Linked DNA regions of Homo sapiens: all the other regions are linked to region 1. The links are contacts of gene promoters, found by promoter capture Hi-C in blood cells and fetal thymus (Javierre and others, 2016). All regions are on one chromosome and are shown on one strand. The core of a region is centred on a gene start or on the middle of the fragment in contact, and the rest is flanking DNA. Distances in the headings are between cores, read along the strand shown.

Region 1 (2,774 bases), core at 93-2,592:
AGTCGTTTGCTGGTCACCTTTACAATAGAGGTCTGGAGCTCTTTCCACACTCTGACAGCAGTGAGGGGTTGATTCTTTGAACCCTTAAGATGCTGTCACAGCATGATATACCTGCTCCCACTGGTAATGGGGCTGCGTGGAGGTGGGACGGGACTGGTGGTCTGGGTATTCTCCCTTATCAGGTCTTTGGCCCAGCAATCCCAGCTTAACTGAAGTAGTATAGCCCCATTCTCTGCCCCCCTCCCTGCCCATGCGGTAATGAGCCTCAGTGTAGAGTTGGCAAGTGCTGGGATATTTTGAGCATTGAATGAAGGTAAAGACTAGAGTGAAAGCAGCTCCAATTCGTTAACTCCACTCACTGGAACAGTTCCCCAGGGCTCCCTATGCCCTCATTCTCCTGGAGACTCACTACTTTCTACAAAAACGTCCCCAAACTCCAGGCTGCACCCAGCTATAGCCAAGGCCAAAAAGATTTCATCTCCATTTTCCCCGTTCAGCGACAAAATTCCCTCTGGGACCCTCCCTTCTTCCTCTGCAATACTCCGCCTTCACCACTTTCTTTGTCCATTCCTTCCCTCCCACCTCCAGAAGGGGCCTGGTGGGAAAAGCATCAGCAGAAGCCGGGAGCCCATTCTAAGTTCTCCCAACAGCCCAACTGCGCCCTGTAGGTGAGTAATTCCTTATCTGGGCCCCAATTCCCTCTCAAAAGGACCCTAGCGGTAGAGCCTAGATCACGCGGCAGCTCCCGTTGCTCTTTCAAACTTCGACTATCCACCAGCTGGGGGCCAAGAGAGCCTGAGGAGAATCAGGGGCCTAGACCCGGAAGGCACGGCCCAGGGGATGACCCCGAGCTCTTGGAGCTGCCCTCCTCGCTGCTCCCACGCAAATGCTAGGAGAGCCGAAAGGGGCAGCGGCACCCTCCTCTTCCTTACCCGAGTGGGGGATGCCCACGCTAGGGCAGCCGGGCTGCAAGACGGCCGAGCGGGACAGCGAGTTCTCGTACTCATCCAGGATGGACGCCATGGTGCCCGGCCTCTGGGCTCTTTGTCCGGGGCCTGGGGATTACAAAAGGGCTACCCCCCCGGGGTCCCCGTCGCCCCAGAATGGAAGCTGTAACTCCCCAGCCTCTGACAGATCCTGGGAACCTGCAGCCGTCGCCTCCTCTTTAAAATCCTGAGGATCCTCTTGCTCTTGCCTTATGCAGCGAGATAATCGGGCAGCCCTCGTCCTTGAATCTGGCGCAGTCTTGCACCTTACTCCCCGCCCCCGCTACAAAAAAATCACAGGCTCCCTTCAGCCGGTGCCAGGTGATCCCAACCTCGCCCCGGCAGCTCAGCTGACTCCCGCCCCCGTGACGCGGGCCTAAAACGTAACTTCCGGGTTCTCAGAGCCCCGCGTACGCTGGCGCACAACGTCGCCGGGCCAGCCAGCAGAAGGCGAGACGAGGGCTGAGGGCTGGGCGCGTGGCGAGTGCTGCTGAACACAAGCCCCGCCCCCAGGATCCTGCTGCAGTTCCGAGCTTTGACACCAGGAGGCAATCCCGGCTTTCTCAGCCGGCCTTCCCCACCCGCCCCGCGCCGCCCAGTTTTGGCTTTCGTGCCCAAGCTCCGCTCCCTCGGGTGGTCTGTCCAGCCTCCCTGACCAGCTCCCGCTCCCGCCTCTCTAAACAGCCTCGGGGAACCTCCCGTTCCTCAATCCAATCGCTGTCTCTATCCCACCGTCACAGGGCACACGCAGACAACTCCTGGCCACTCTTCTCCCTTACCCAAAGGCCCCCCAGCTTCCAGGAGACCGCAGAGCTGGTGGCCAGGCTAGTGGGAAGCCCTGTGCCAGGAACCGCCCTGACCTGCCCCACAGTGGCTCCTTGGCTCAGGGTTGCTGGGCCGCTTCCATTCACTCATTCACCAAAATGTGGTTGAGCACTTACTCTGTGCCAGGCCTTGGGCTGGGCGCTGGGGTCACAGAGATGAGGACAGCCCCTCCCCGCCCTGGAAAAGGTCGTAAGCCAGCAGGGGCGCTGGACCCGTAAATAGACCATTCATACTAGAAAAGCAAGTGATGGATTATCCATCAGGCACTTACTCCACGAATGAGCGTCCACTCTGTGCCAAGCACTGTTCCAGGCTCTGGGGACGTGGCAGAGAACAAGACGGAAAATGTCTCTTGCCTGGTGGGGCGTACCCAGCGACGTGGCCACGGCACTGAGAGCGTGAAGGAGCAGGGAACAAATACCTGCCAAGCCTAGCAAGAACGAGGGACAAGTGGGAGCAAGCGTGAAGGCGGGGGCCGCCCAGCCTGAGGTGGAGAGGGGAGTCCTCAGCCAGGGACCTGCGAGGGCTGGGGCGCGACTGTGGTTGGGTTTTCCTCTCTCACCTGCTTAGGCGACCCAGATGGAGTCTGTTCCCTTCTGGGGCCCTTGGATTCTACCTTGCTAAAGTGGAAGGCTCTGGACTAGGGTCGCCACCGTCCTGGCTCTGCTGGGCGGCCCCCGCCTAACAACTAAGAGCATCCCTTTGCTCTCAGAAGTTTCCAGGTTTGCACCATACCTTATGTGGTTGGGTTACTCTTGCTCAACTTCCTGGCCACGTGCGGAGAACTGTGACTCTCACCAGCCCCACTGAGGGCTATCTGGGCTCTCTGGCTTGGAGGGGCACTAGTCCTGGGGCAGGTGACAAGTATGCTGTCCAGGCTCATTTCCCTTCGCACCAGGGTCCTGCTTCTCTTGACCAAGCCTGCAGCCTCAATGCAGCCTTCCCACCTGAGGTTGCCAGGTC
Region 2 (2,774 bases), core at 136-2,635, 460 kb before region 1:
AATCCAGGAGGTGGAGGTTGCAATGAGCCAATATTGTGTCACTGCACTCCAGCCTGGGCAACACAATGTGACTCCATCTAAAAAAAATAAATAAAATTACAAATACAAATATTAGCTGGGTGTGGTGGTGGGCACCTGTAATCCCAACTACTTGGGAGGCTGAGGCAAAATAATCTGCTGCATCCGGGAAGCAGAGGTTCCAGTGAGGCAAGATCGCACCATTGCACTCCAGCCTGGGTGACAGAGTGAGACTGAGTCTCAAAAAAAAAAAAAGTTTGACAAACAGTGCCTTCAAATGTGGTAACAGTGAGGATGGGAGCAATGGCTCATGCATGTAATACCAGCACTTTGGGAGGTGGGTTGATCACCTGAGGTCAGGAGTTCAAGACCAGCCTGGCCAACATGGTGAAAACCCGTCTCTACTAAAAATAAAAAAATTAGCTGGGTGTGGTGGTGGGCGCCTGTAATCTCAGCTACTGGGGAGGCTAAAGGCAGGAAAATCACTTGAATCAGGGAGGCAGAGGTTGCAGTGAGCTGAGACTGTACCATTGCCCTCCAGTCTGGGCAACAAGAGCGAAACTCTGTCTCAAAAAAAAAAAAGAAAAGAAAAGAAAAAAAATGGTTGTAACAGTGGTTTTACATCGTTAAAATGAATGTTTATTATTTCAATTAAGCTTCTCACCAAGAAGCTTAAGTACTTAAATTATTTACAATTTATCACCCAGTGAGTTTTCCTCTTGGCCCTAGCTGCCAGAAAACTTAAACTCAGCTGAGTGACTGATGGTAGTAAATACTGTACCTACTAACAGTGCTAATTTTCTGCCGCTTTTAAATTGACTATACTATTTTATATTTAATACCATAAACTTACATTATTTTGAGAATAGGCCTTAAATTCTTTTTGAGAAATAGGGAAGTTATGTAAAATAAACATGGGGTTAAGAATTAAATACAGCGAATAGAAATAAATATAATCTGGTGGCTCACACCTGTAATCCCAGCACTTTGGGAGGCTGAGGTGGGAGGATCACTTGAGCCTAGGCGTTCAAGGAGAGCCTGGGAATCATAGGGAGACCCTGTCTTTATGAGAAAAATACATAAATCCATAAATATTTAAAAATGTGTTTCCTGCCCTCCATTCGGCACTGCCTTAACACCAGATACCAATAACATCAACTTGCTAGAATGTTACTCACTACTTTGCTAACTCAGCCTCAGAGTTGACTTTATCACCTTCTCTTACTTGAGGAGGCTTTGAGTCCTGTGGAACCTGGACTGAAAGCCCTCGAGGGAGCTGTTACCACAGGAACCCTTCAGGTTTGCCACTATTAATCACCCATTTTCCTTTACATAAGGGACGAGGGAAAGAAGATGGCTTCAGCCATAAGTTGGTTCATCATCAATGAAAGTAATAGGCAAAACATCTGAATATGGAAAGTAGAATGACATTGCCATTTTGGAAATAGTTTCTCATAGTCAGGATTCACTGTTTTCTTTTTTTTTGAGACGGAGTCTCACTCTGTCACCCAGGCTGGAGTGCAGTGGCGCGATCTCAGCTCACTGCAATGTTGGCCTCCTGGTTCAAGTGATTCTCCTGCCTCAGCCTCCTGAGTAGATGGGATTACAGCCATGTGCCACCCCCTACTAATTTTCTGTATTTTTTGTAGAGACAGGGTTTCACCATGTTGCCCAGGCTGGCCTTGAACTCCTGACCTGAGGTAATCCACTTGCCTTGGCCTCCCAAAGTGCGGGGATTACAGGCATGAGCCACTGCGCTTGGCCATGGATTCACTGTTTTATCTAGAGGACTTTGAAAATTCTCAGGGTAGGGGAAAGCAAGTTTTAGATAAAGATATATTAAATTCAAACAAATCTACTGGTAGAGTGACAGCCAGTTGTTGTAACCACGGTGTTATATAGTTTCAAAATTATAATCAAACAGTTTAGTTCCATTAAGAACATAATTTTATCTACATACCTTCAGTTCATTCATGGAATTGTGTTCTTCAAAATGTTTCTTTTTTCTCTCAATATATTGATCAATGGACTCCATTTCCTTAAAATGAGCTTCATGAAGCTTCTTAAAGTCTAGAATGTTCCAATATAAAAATTAATAACAAAACAAAATCCATTTATTTATCTTCTCTGTGTTTTTCTGTTAACACTTATTCTCTTCTTTGCATCCCTGACATTCAACTTCAATATAATTTTTGCTAAAACATTAATTTCAAAATACTTAGTTTTTGGAAACTCAGGGGCAAAGCACATTCATCTTATAAACTATCAAACATTCACCATCTCCCCACTGACAAATTTCACTAAATTGACATCTTGGTTTAATCCAGAGGATTAGAGTAGAAGATTTATCTTCTCCCCTACCAATTAGTCACAAGTGGTCTTTATTTAATAATGAATTTGATATTTTATAATGCTGTATGTCAAGGACTGACAAATTTATTCTATAAAGGGCTAGATAAAAGTATTTAAGACTTGGCTGGTCATGGTGGCTCAACACCTGTAATCTCAGCACTTTGGGAAGCCAAAGCGGTCAGATCACCTGAGGTCAGGAGTTCGAGACCAGCCTGACCAACATGGAGAAACCCCATCTCTACTAAAAATACAAAAATTAGCCAGGTGTGGTGGCGCACGCCTGTAATCCCAGCTACTCGGGACACTGAGGCAGGAGAATCGCTTGAACCCGGGAGGTGGAGGTTGCAGTGAGCCTAGATTGCGCCATTGCACTCCAGCCTGGGCAACAAGAGCAAAACTTCGTC
Region 3 (2,774 bases), core at 79-2,578, 430 kb before region 1:
TCGAGACCAGCCTGACCAAAATGGAGAAACCCTGTCTCTACTAAAAATACAAAATTAGCCGGGCATGGTGGCACATGCCTGTAATCCCAGCTAGGCTGTAATCCCAGGAGGCTGAGGAGGGAGAATCGCTTGAACCCGGGAGGTGGAGGTTGTGGTGAGCCGAGTTCACGCCATTGCACTCCAGCCTGGGCAACGAGAGCGAAACTCTGTCTTAAAAAAAAAAATTGATTACATGGTGAAATGACATTTTTGATATATTGGGTTAAATAAAATATTTAAAAACTAATTTCACCTGTTTTTATTTTATTTTTTAAAGCAAAATTAGGCCAGGCGCCGTGGCTGATGCATGTAATCCCAGCACTTTGGGAGGCCAAGGCGGATGGATCACGAGGTCAGGAGTTCAAGACCAGCCTAGCCAAGATAGTGAAACTGTTTCTACTAGAAATACAAAAATTAGCTGGGCGTGGTGGCGGGCGCCTGTAATCCCAGCTACTTGGGAGACTGAGGCAGAGAATTGCTTGAATCTGGTAGGCGGGGGTTGCAGTGAGCCAAGATCATCCCACTGTACTCCAGCCTGGGCAACAGAGCGAGACTCTTCCTCAAAAAAAAAAGCAAAATGAATAGAAAATTTAAAATTACATATGTGACTCACATTATATTCCTATTAGACAATGCTTGTTTAGATGCTTTGTAAAAAACTGGAGGAAGGCCAGGTGCAGTGGCTTACACCTATAATCCCAGCACTTTGGGAGGCCAAGGCAGGCAGATCACAAGGTCGGGAGTTCGGGACCAGCCTGGCCAGTATGGTGAAACCACGTCTCTACTAAAAGTACAAAAATTAGGGGGGCGAGGTGGCAAGCGCCTATAGTCCCAGCTACTTGGGAGGCTGAGGCAGGAGAATGGCTTGAACCTGGGAAGCAGAGGTTGCAGTGAGCCAAGATCGCACCACTACACTCCAGCCTGGACGACAGATCGAGACTCCGTCTGAAAAAAAAAAAAAAAAAAAACTAGAGGGAAAGCCCCATGTGTTTCTGTATTTGTGGAGTAAGATGAGCTATATGGGACTTACGAAGAGGGTTATGAAATGGCACAGCTCAAGACAACTTGATTTTTTTCTAAGTGTAGGTTCATTACCTAGATGGGGTCAGAGAATGAATTAAGAGGATGATTAATGATGCAGCTAAAAGAGCATAAATTTTAGAGACAGCAGACTCGGGTTCTTTTTATTCTTTTTTTTTTTTTTTTTTTTTTTTTTTTGAGATGGAGTCTTGCTCTGACCCAGGCTGGAGCACAGTGGCGGGATCTTGGCTCGCTGCAACCTCCGCCTCCCGGGTTCAAGCTATTCTCCTACCTCAGCCTCCCGAGTAGCTGGGATTCCAGGCGCACGCCACTATGCCTGGCTAATTTTTGTATTTTTATATTTTTAGTAGAGACGGGGTTTCACCATGTTGGCCATGCTGGTCTCGAACTTCTGACCTTGTGATCCACCTGCCTCAGCCTCCCAAAGTGCTGGGATTACAGGTGTGAGCCACCGCACCAGGCCTTAACTTTACTCTTAATGAGGCATGTGAAATAAATTGATCCCTCTCAATCTGTCATATTTGAATACTCCTAAAATATACTCCCTCCGACATTTATTTAAACATTCTACAATTGGCATGAACCTCTTAGATTCAAAGTCATAAAGTAGACAGATACAAGGTTACTTCCGTCTACATTTTATTGTTCTCTTACTGGTAGAGGATTTATTGTAACTAATTTTAAAAAGGATTATTATAGTATGTTGACACTTAGAAATAGCTTTTTTACCCTGAGCTTTTGTTGTGCTCAACAGCATATTTAAATGGAATTTTGTTTGTATTATAAGTGAAGTACATTTTTTTCTAATTGTTATGGCAAATTCAAACCCGAGAGAAGAATATAATGAACCTCTGTCTACCTGTCACTAAACTAGAGCACTTATCAACTCTTGGCCAATCTTGTTTCATCTAAAATCATAGTTGGCTTATCATGCTGGCTCACGCCTGTAATCCCAACACTTTTGGAGGCCAAGGTGGGAGGATCACTTGAACCCAGGAGTTCAAGACCATCATGAGCAACATAGCGAGACTTCATCTCTAAAACAAAACAAAATATCTATCCTCCACAATGTTTTGAAGCAGATACCTGAAATTACATCATTCCATCCATAAATATTTTGGTAAGGATCTTTATAAGAAACTTTTTTCTATTTATTTATTTTTTGAGATGGAGTCTGGCTCTTTTACCCAGGATGGAGAACAACCTCCGCCTCCCAGGCTCAAGCCATCCTTTCACCTCAGCCTCCCAAGTAGCTAGGACTATAAGGCATGCACCACCATGCCCAGCTAATTTGTTGTAGAGATAGGGTTTCAACATGTTGCCCAGGCTGGTTTTGAACTCCTGAACTCAAGTGATCTGCCCACCTTTGCTTCCCAAAGTGCTGGCATTACAAGCATGAGCCACTGCACTCAGCCTTTCTTTTCAATTATTTTATTTTATTTTTTATTTTTTTGAGATGGAGTCTTGCTCTGTAGCCCAGGCTGAAGTGCAGTGGCAGGATCTTGGCTCACTGCAAACTCCGCCTCCCGGGTTCAAGTGATTCCCCTGCCTCAGCCTCCCGAGTAACTGGGACTACAGGTGCATGCCACCACATCTGGCTAATTTTATGTATTTTAGTAGAGACGGGGTTTCACCATGTTGGCCAGGATGGTCTTAATCTCCTGACTTCGTGATCCTCCCACCTCAGCCTCCCA
Region 4 (2,774 bases), core at 98-2,597, 370 kb before region 1:
TTTCTTCTAGTAACTTTTCTATGCTTTTCAGATAACTGTATTAGTATCCTGCCTTTTTTTTTAACTTTTAAGCATTTCTCCAATCAATATAAATACTTTGAAACATTTAAAACATATGCATAATTCTGTGGACACATCATGATTTTATTATTCCCTCATAATTGGATAATTTTTCTCTAAATAATCTTTTAGGCCAGGCACAGTGGCTCACGTCTATAATCCCAGCACTTCAAGAGGCCAAGGTGGGTGGATCACCTGAGGTCAGGAGTTCAAGACCAGCCTGGCCAACATGGTGAAACCCCGTCTCTACTAAAAATACAAAAATTAGCTGGGCCTGGTGGTGCATGCCTGTAATCCCAGCTACTTGAGAGCCTGAGGCAGGAGAATCACTTGAACCCCAAAGATGGAGGGTGCAATGAGTCGAGACTGCACCACTGCACTCCAGCCTGGGTGACAGAGGGAGACTCCATCTCAAAAAAAAAAAAAAAAAAGTTTTGAAAGACCTCTTGTGTATAAAGCCTTTTTGGTACTTAAGCTTGGAGAAAATCTTTTCATTGTGCCACAGGCTAATCAATAACCCTGTAAGAAATAATTCTCAAAACTTGAATGAAGAATGTTCTTTAATATTAAAAAAGAATGCCCCATGTAACATAATATAATTTATTTATCTAAGGCAGATGGCCTGGTTCCTGTGGTTACCTAAAAAAAAAAAAAACCCCAGCCTTTCTGTGCCCCACCGAATAGCTGAGGTATGTAGGTTCTCTTCTGTGCTCTATAGACATGCAGTTCATAGCCCTTCTAAAGGCAGAGTTCAAAGGCTAGCCTGTGAGCCATCTGTACTCAAAAGAATGACCTTGGCTGGGTGCAGTGGCTCACGCCCATAATCCCAGCACTCTGGGAGGCCGGGGCGGGCGGATCACCTGAGGTCAAGAGTTCAAAACCAGCCTGGCCAACGTGGTGAAACCTTAGCCAGGCGTGGTGGCGTGAGCCTGTAGTCCCAGCTACTTGGGGAGGCTGAGGCAGGAGAATCACTCGAACCCAGGAGGCAGAGGTTGCGGTGAGCCAAGATCACACCACTGCATGCCAGCCTGGGAGACAGAGGGAGACTCCGTCTCAAAAAAACAAAAAACAAAACAAAAGAATGACCTTTTAGTTCTTCGATGTATCTATACTGCTAATGGACCAGTATCTGGTCAAAAATGTCAGATCTGAGGAATCAAGTAATGTGGAGTAAAGTTTAAAACATATGCTAGAAAAAACACATTAATGATTATTGCTAGCATAAAGTTTCTGGGTAAAAGGGAATTGAATAACCATGGTCCACTTTCAAATCTCATTCTTTAAAAAAAAAAAAAAAAAAGCCCCAATGTGCATATGCCTAGGGAAGAAAGAAAAACCCAGAAGCCAAATATATCTATCTGATTAGAGCAAGAAGCAGAGTCGCAGCTTGCTAAGAGCTAAGCAGTGCAGCCCAGTAGAGCCCTCCACTTCCTCATATGCACTCTGTCCCATTTCCTTAGCAGTAGATTGGTGGACAGAATGACAGGTGATATTGTAGTCACAGCAAATGTAGTTTAGTCTTACAAAACAGCTTCCCACAAGCTGCTTCTTCAAGTAATCAATGGTGACTAAGGAATTCTGAAAAAAAGTTGGCAAAGTGACTCTCCTGGGTTTACTTTTCATTGCAAAAGGTTTGGATACAAAGCATAGCTGTGAAAGTTATCTCTGGATAGGGTTCAATGCTTTGCAGGGGTAAAAGAGGAATTAGAAAAAAGGAAGAATTCAGCATAAAAACCACACCTGAAACAAACAGGGCAGTTCAAGGAGAGAGAAAGGAAAAAATGAAAGAGGGCATAAGATTCCTCATAGTCAACGTGATTTGATTCCCATCTTTACATGAACTAACTGCCCGACCTAATTCCCCTTCTGACTTTCACTCACATTTCCTGAATGCCCAACCCTCTCAACTAGCAAATTCCTTTGCTCTCAATTTAGAGTTCTAAAATTTCCTCTCCAGGCATTTTATCTGACAGTGTCCTCATTGACAGTCTCATTATTAAAAACTGGCACCCATATAATATTTTGAAGTCCTGTGGGTCATAGACTATCCATATAAACCAGGAATAGATTGTTTAGGAAATTACTTAAAACAAGCTTATATGTAAGTTTTATTGTTGAAAAGGTACCTAATCAAATCAGTAAATATTTACTCACTACTGTGAAGGCAGTGTATTAGGTAGTAAAGCATATCAAAAGACTAGTTTCATGTTAGAAAAACCCACATTAAGAACAATCTACTTGACAAAGCATATGTGGTGAGAACTATGTTTATTCAATATCACGAAAGTAAAATAAAGGCTGGGGAAATGTTCCAGATTAAAGGAGGCTAAAGAGACATGACAACTGACCCAGACTAGATCCTGTACTGGAGGCGGGGAAGTGCTATAAAACAGATTATTGGATGACAAAATTGGAATATGAATATAAATTAGAATAAACTGGATAATATGTTAATAAAACAGAGTAATAGATTAGATAAGAGGATTGTATCAATGTTAAGTTTACTGAAGTAGATAACTATACTATGGATATGTAAAAGAATGTCCCTATTCTTAGCAAACACACACTGGTGCATTCAGAGGTAAAGGGTCATTACTATGCAACTTACCCTGAAATAGTTCAGAAATACAATTATGTGAACACACATACACAAAAAAATTACATAAGTATGTGTATATACATACATGTATGTATGTGTATGTATGTACGTACAT
Region 5 (2,774 bases), core at 134-2,633, 330 kb before region 1:
GGTAAAGAATGTAAGAGTACCGCCTTCTTTTGTTTTGTTTTGTTTTTTGAGACAGAGTTTCACTCTTGTCTCCCAGGCTGGAGTGCAATGGCGCGATCTTGGCTCACTGCAACCTCCACCTCCTGGGTTCAAGTGATTCTCCTGCCTCAGCCTCCTGAGTAGCTAGGATTACAGGTGTGCGTCACTACAGCTGGCTAATTTTTGTGTTTTTAGTAGAGACGGGGTTTCACCATGTTGGTCAGGCTGGTCTCGAACTCCTGACCTCAGGTGATCTGCCTGTCTTGGCCTCCTAAAGTGCTAGGATTACTGGCATAAGCCACTGCACCCAGTGGTGAGTACCCACTATGAATAATATTTCTTAGTACATTTTTTCTTTACTTTGTACATTTCTATATGGTTGTAATTCTTTTTTTTTTTTTTTTTGAGACAGTGTTGCTCTGTCGCACAGGCTGGAGTACAGTGGCGCGATCTCTAAATCTCGGCTCACTGCAACCTCTGCCTCCCGGGTTCAAGTGATTCTCCTGCCTCAGCCTTCCTGAATAGCTGGGATTACAGGCATACGCCACCACACCCGGCTAATTTTGTATTTTTAGTAAAGACAGGGTTTCTCCATGTTGGTCAGGCTGGTCTGGAACTCCCGACCTCAGATTATCTGCCCACCTCGGCCTCCCAAAGTGGTGGGATTACAGGCATGAGCCACTGCGCCCGGCCAATTTGGCTTTTATTTTAAAATACCTTTAGCGTAGAACTGTCATAGGACAGAAAATAAAAAAATACACAGAAATGGAACATTTCAAGTACCTAGACATAAAAATTAATAGGATAGCATAGACCCAAGTTATGGGAAACTGTCTCTAAAATTCAATTCATTAAACACAAGTTGAAAGAAAAGTTCTTTTCCCAATGTACCACTATTGTCCTACTTGCCTTGATTTCCTTTAATTCCTAAGTAAAGGGTAAATTTAGTTGCTTTACTTAAAATTATCAGCTTCAGTTTTAGCAAAAATTACCATGCCCTTAAATTCTCAACCAGAGTTATAAAAAATAGCAGCTCAGGTAGTTATGCTGCCCTAAACAATTTATTGCAACATGTATTGGCAAATATTTCTATGTATGTCAATTTTTTTCATTTGCTCTTTTCATTTTTTTGTTATAATGATGTATAAATGTGCCATTAAAAAGCCTCTAAATGTTCTGCTTCTTCCATTTAGCTAAGGAAGGAAAGATGATATCATGCCCATTTTATAAACAAAGAAGCCAAGCCTAACTTGCCCAATTTCTTATAGTTTTCAGTTTCCTATGTATGAGAGTTGGTGCTTGCAATGATCCTTTTCTCATCATTCCAAAAAGATGAACAAAACTGAATTATTCAGATTTTATTCTTGTCCATTACAGATATGGGGAAAGGGAAAATAACTTTACTCCCAAAAAATCTTTTAAAATTCATAGATCTCTTTATTAATTTTCAAGTGTTTGGATGCTTAAAGAAGATTATTTGAAGACGGCTTTTGGAATCAATTAGCATGGACCCCAGCAGTGACTACCATTTCCTCAGCCAGATTTTGTGGAAGAGGGTGAAACTCACATTGGTCTGTGGTGTCTTCGAGGGTGTGCTTCAGCATGTTGACCCTAATAAGATTGTTGTCCTGAAGAAAGGTCTTGTTCTATTTCTTATAATGTTCTGCCTTTTAAGAGATTAGTGATTGACTTTCAGTGGGCTCCATTAGTGATTGGGAGGGTGGCATTATTCCTATTTTAGGTAAAGTGTGGGAGGAAGGTTAGAATATTGTTTTCCCAAACAGAACAATGTGACTGAATATGCTGGTTTGTCCCTACTTTTTTTTTTTGAGATGGAGTCTCGCTCTGTTGCCCAGGCTGGAGTGCAGTGGCGTGATCATGGCTCACTGCAAGCTCTGCCTCCCGGGTTCACACCATTCTCCTGCCTCAGCCTCCCGAGTAGCTGGGACTACAGACACCCGCCACCACTCCCAGCAAATTTTTTGTATTTTTAGTAGAGACAGGGTTTCACCGTGTTAGCCAGGATGGTCTCGATCTCCTGACCTCGTGATCCGCCTGCCTTGGCCTCCCAAAGTTCTGCGATTACAGGTGTGAGCCACCATGCCGAGCCTGGTGTGTCCCTGCTTTTGATATGATAGCAGGAATTTTCAATATAAAAAGGTTTTTTTTGTTTTGTTTTGTTTTGTTTTGTTTTTTGAGATGTTGTCTTGCTCCATCCCCCAGGCTGGAGTGCAGTGGCGTGATAGCTCACCGCAACCTCCGCCTCCCAAGTTCAAGTGATTCTCCTGCCTCAGCCTCCCGAGTGGCTGGAATTACGGGCACACACCACCATGCCTATCTAATTTTTGTATTTTTAGTACAAAAAATACAAAAACACAGCCTGTTGGCCAGGCTGGTCTCAAACTCCGGACCTCAGGTGATCCACCCACCTCGGTCCCCCAAAGTGCTGGGATTATAGGCATGAGCCACCGCTCCCGGCCTTTTTTTTTTTTTCTGAGAATGAGTCTCGTTCTTGTTGCCCAGGCTAGAGTGCAGTGGCGCGATCTTGGCTCACTGCAACCTCTGCCTCCCAGGTTCAAGCAAGTCTCCTGCCTCAGCCTCCCAAGTAGCTGGGGTTACAGGCACCCATCACCAAGTCTGGCTAATTTTTGTATTTTTAGTAGTGGCAGAGTTTCACTGTGTTGGCCAGGCCGGTCTCAAAGTCCTGACTTCAGTTGATCCGCCCACCTTGGCCTCCCAAAGTGCTGGGATTACAG
Region 6 (2,774 bases), core at 142-2,641, 300 kb after region 1:
GCTTTACTGGCAATATCTAGAGTCAGTATCTTTTACAGTCTATTATTTAACATCGAACACATCATTAATACTACCATTCCAAACATTTTAATTCAATTTACATGTATTTATCATCTTGTAAAGATTTCCAGCCATTCGCAAAGTCAAGAATTATACTGCTTTGACCCTAACCTTTAATTACCAAAATTTTACCACATATTAACTCCCATCTGTAAATCATCTCTCCAACCAACGTCCACCTCAAATGCGGTCTTCTCCACAAATCCATCACCAAAAGCATCAAATAAGCTCTCCCTTTTCCGTGCTCCCACACCACTTTAGAATGTCCTATAATCTTTTACATTCTGTCTTGTATTCTAGTTATTTGTGTATATTAGTTATTTCCCTTTGTAAACCCCTCTAGGTTTGGGAATCATCTGTCCCCGGCCCTATCACAGGATAAGGAACCCAATAAATATCTACAGGATTCGACGGAAGTGAAAACATCAATTTTAATATCTAGACTGGAATAAGCTTCTGCTTTGGTCTTCATCCACATCCTTTATCTGTTAATGCCTATTAAACCTATCTGTAAAATTCCAATCGGCAATACTTTTTCCTCCCTCAAACTTGAGTATTTAAATAAACGTGAAGAATAAGGGCTTAAATCCTGAGGAATAATGAACAGAAGAGGATTTTTAAAAACTAATTTGCGCAGTACTAATATTGACTTCATTTGTTAAGGTTATTATACTTGCAGAAAACGAAAAATCTGTTACGTGCGGCCAGCACTCCGAGCAGACACCTTAAACCACGAAGAGCTGAGAATTTTAAAATCACTCATTGCTGTCACTTCATTTAGAGCCAAAAAAAGCTTAAGTGAGAAATACAAACAGCCGAGAGGTCCCTAGGGAAGAGCGGCAGGGGTGCAAGAAGAGTCCGCGAGCCCTGACAGAGGACGGCAGGGCGGGGCGGAAGAGGACGCCAAGAGAGCGACGGACAAGCAACCCGAGCCGGGTGGCCGGAGGGGCCGAGGTGCAGGCGGAGAAGTGTTAGGGAAGCGGGAGGCGGCACAACGTACAGGCCGAGGAGGGGAAAAAGGGCACAGTGTGCCCGGCCCGGGGCAGGGGCGTCTACTCGGCCCGGCGCTAACGGAGGCCGCCAGGCTGAGGGAGCGTACCCTACCTCCCACCGCAGGAACTTCAGGGCGCCCAGACAAAACCCGAAGCCTTCCCTGAAGCCCAGAACGAAAGAGTCATTCTCTTTACCTGCCGCGGCAAACCTCCTCGACAAATTTTGCGCAGACTTGTTTGGGGTCCACACGCTCTGAGTTTCCTTAGAGCGGAAACAGACAGCCGCCTCTAGCAGTCCGCTCACAACGCCCGGCTCGCCTCAGTGAAGTATTCAAATCTAACCGCCTAGGTGATGCGCACGCGCAAAGCGGCTCTACGCGTCGGCTCCGCCCCTTAGGTTCCAGACCAACCCTATTTCTAAGACTCCTTTAGGGAAACTACTTTCCCAGACTCCGTGCCAATTTTATTTCCTTCAGCTTTATCTCTTTTTCGACCGAATTTCCTCTGCCCCTCCCCAGTGGAGACCTCCCCCACAATCGTGGGAGCGGCCATCTTCTTTCGATTGCTTGCTATGGAAGTGATTGGACTTTGGCTTCCGTACAAAATGGCGGCTTCCATAACATTGCGTCACAGCCCCTTGATATTACTCCCTATAGCAATCAGGAAACAGTAACTTACCGGGACGAGGTGGCCGAGTGGTTAAGGCGATGGACTGCTAATCCATTGTGCTCTGCACGCGTGGGTTCGAATCCCATCCTCGTCGATGTGGTGGCTTACTTTTGCTTGTAACCAAAGTAAATTTGCAGAGCAGAATAAATTTTTTAATAACCAAAGTAAATTTGCAGAGCAGAATAAATTTTTTAATAACCAAAGTAAATTTGCAGAGCGGAAAAACTTGAATACTTATTATTTATTACTCAATTAATCTGGCACCATCAGTTTCAGGCCTGAAATGTTGAAATACAGTATTTGGAACGTTCTGACATCACAGATAAAGAAAAGGGAGGGAAAGAGACTTTCCAGGAATCAGAAATCATGCTGGATTTAATTTCTTTTTATATGGAGTTAACAACAGTGAATAGAATTCCACAATTATTACCATCCCATATGTTCCAATGCTGCTCTGTTCCAACTTTAACACAGCTCCTAACTGAGGAGTTTCAATTATTGTAGACTGTTACTCTGGGGTTTTTAACACCTGTCCTGATTATGAGATACCAGGTTTCACTTCAAAAGCTACCATGAGACACTTTATCCGGTATTTATTATCTACAGGCACCACATGTTTTACATGAATTACATCACTATAACCCTTGATCATGACAAATATTTTTATTACTCCATTTTACAGATGAGGAGACTGAAAGATTAGCTTGCCCGAGGTTATACAGCTTCTAAATTGAAGAAAGGAGAGTGTAACCCAAATCTACTAGACGCTGGCTTAATCACCCTTCTAATCTGTGCTGTAGATTAATAATTAGTATTTATCAATCCTACACTGTGCTGTAGATTAATAATCAGTATTTATCAATCTTTTGCAGTCATGGTTTACAGATTGTCTCCTCCACAAGGCTGTCTGCATTGCACCATGCTCCACAACACGGCCTCTGGCAGGTGCTTCAGCAAGGTTTGGGCACTGAGTATGGAAAGCAGTGGCCCCATTCTCTGCTGGCTCCAGTGGCTTCTTTCTGTTACAGATCCAAATCCGTTGGGAATGTTGAT

The links. Contacts are between HindIII fragments. The CHiCAGO score rates a contact against its expected background, and 5 or more counts as called.
Region 2: a contact is called between a fragment that was not itself captured here and the fragment with the promoter of VPS18 in region 1, in 1 of 17 cell types (endothelial precursors). The highest score is 7.0, in endothelial precursors.
Region 3: a fragment that was not itself captured here is called in contact with the fragment with the promoter of VPS18 in region 1 in 5 of 17 cell types (total B cells, fetal thymus, naive CD4 T cells and 2 more); the score reaches 7.2 in total B cells.
Region 4: a contact is called between a fragment that was not itself captured here and the fragment with the promoter of VPS18 in region 1, in 2 of 17 cell types (erythroblasts and monocytes). The highest score is 5.3, in erythroblasts.
Region 5: a fragment that was not itself captured here is called in contact with the fragment with the promoter of VPS18 in region 1 in 11 of 17 cell types (endothelial precursors, erythroblasts, megakaryocytes and 8 more); the score reaches 7.7 in endothelial precursors.
Region 6: the fragment with the promoter of KNL1 here is called in contact with the fragment with the promoter of VPS18 in region 1 in 1 of 17 cell types (M2 macrophages); the score reaches 6.3 in M2 macrophages.

Annotation. Positions count from the first base shown.
Region 1 is chr15:40,893,018-40,895,791 of GRCh38, reverse strand. VPS18 (VPS18 core subunit of CORVET and HOPS complexes) reads right to left here and starts at 1,342. Exons shown (of 5, transcript NM_020857.3): 1 at 933-1,342. The coding sequence starts at 1,023. RefSeq lists an enhancer at 527-616 and a silencer at 1,457-1,626. The HindIII fragment of the contact is 16,460 bases long and covers 1-2,774 here.
Region 2 is chr15:41,357,463-41,360,236 of GRCh38, reverse strand. NUSAP1 (nucleolar and spindle associated protein 1) reads right to left here. Exons shown (of 11, transcript NM_016359.5): 6 at 1,979-2,088. Among named protein-coding and RNA genes, the nearest start is that of NUSAP1, 26 kb to the right of the region's middle. The HindIII fragment of the contact is 1,388 bases long and covers 692-2,079 here.
Region 3 is chr15:41,327,547-41,330,320 of GRCh38, reverse strand. All of the region lies in intron 2 of OIP5 (Opa interacting protein 5), which reads left to right. Among named protein-coding and RNA genes, the nearest start is that of OIP5, 3.7 kb to the left of the region's middle. The HindIII fragment of the contact is 6,952 bases long and covers 1-2,774 here.
Region 4 is chr15:41,258,112-41,260,885 of GRCh38, reverse strand. The region is part of intron 3 of CHP1 (calcineurin like EF-hand protein 1); the gene reads right to left. Among named protein-coding and RNA genes, the nearest start is that of OIP5-AS1, 23 kb to the left of the region's middle. The HindIII fragment of the contact is 1,619 bases long and covers 538-2,156 here.
Region 5 is chr15:41,225,325-41,228,098 of GRCh38, reverse strand. It overlaps EXD1 (exonuclease 3'-5' domain containing 1), which reads left to right. Exons shown (of 12, transcript NM_001286441.2): 2 at 1,471-1,656. The coding sequence starts at 1,524. Among named protein-coding and RNA genes, the nearest start is that of EXD1, 4.0 kb to the left of the region's middle. The HindIII fragment of the contact is 4,426 bases long and covers 1-2,774 here.
Region 6 is chr15:40,592,866-40,595,639 of GRCh38, reverse strand. KNL1 (kinetochore scaffold 1) reads right to left here and starts at 1,391. Exons shown (of 26, transcript NM_144508.5): 1 at 1,248-1,391. TRS-GCT4-2 (tRNA-Ser (anticodon GCT) 4-2) reads left to right here and starts at 1,734; the gene lies at 1,734-1,815. RefSeq lists enhancers at 912-1,231, 1,452-1,671 and a silencer at 1,792-1,841. The HindIII fragment of the contact is 4,787 bases long and covers 856-2,774 here.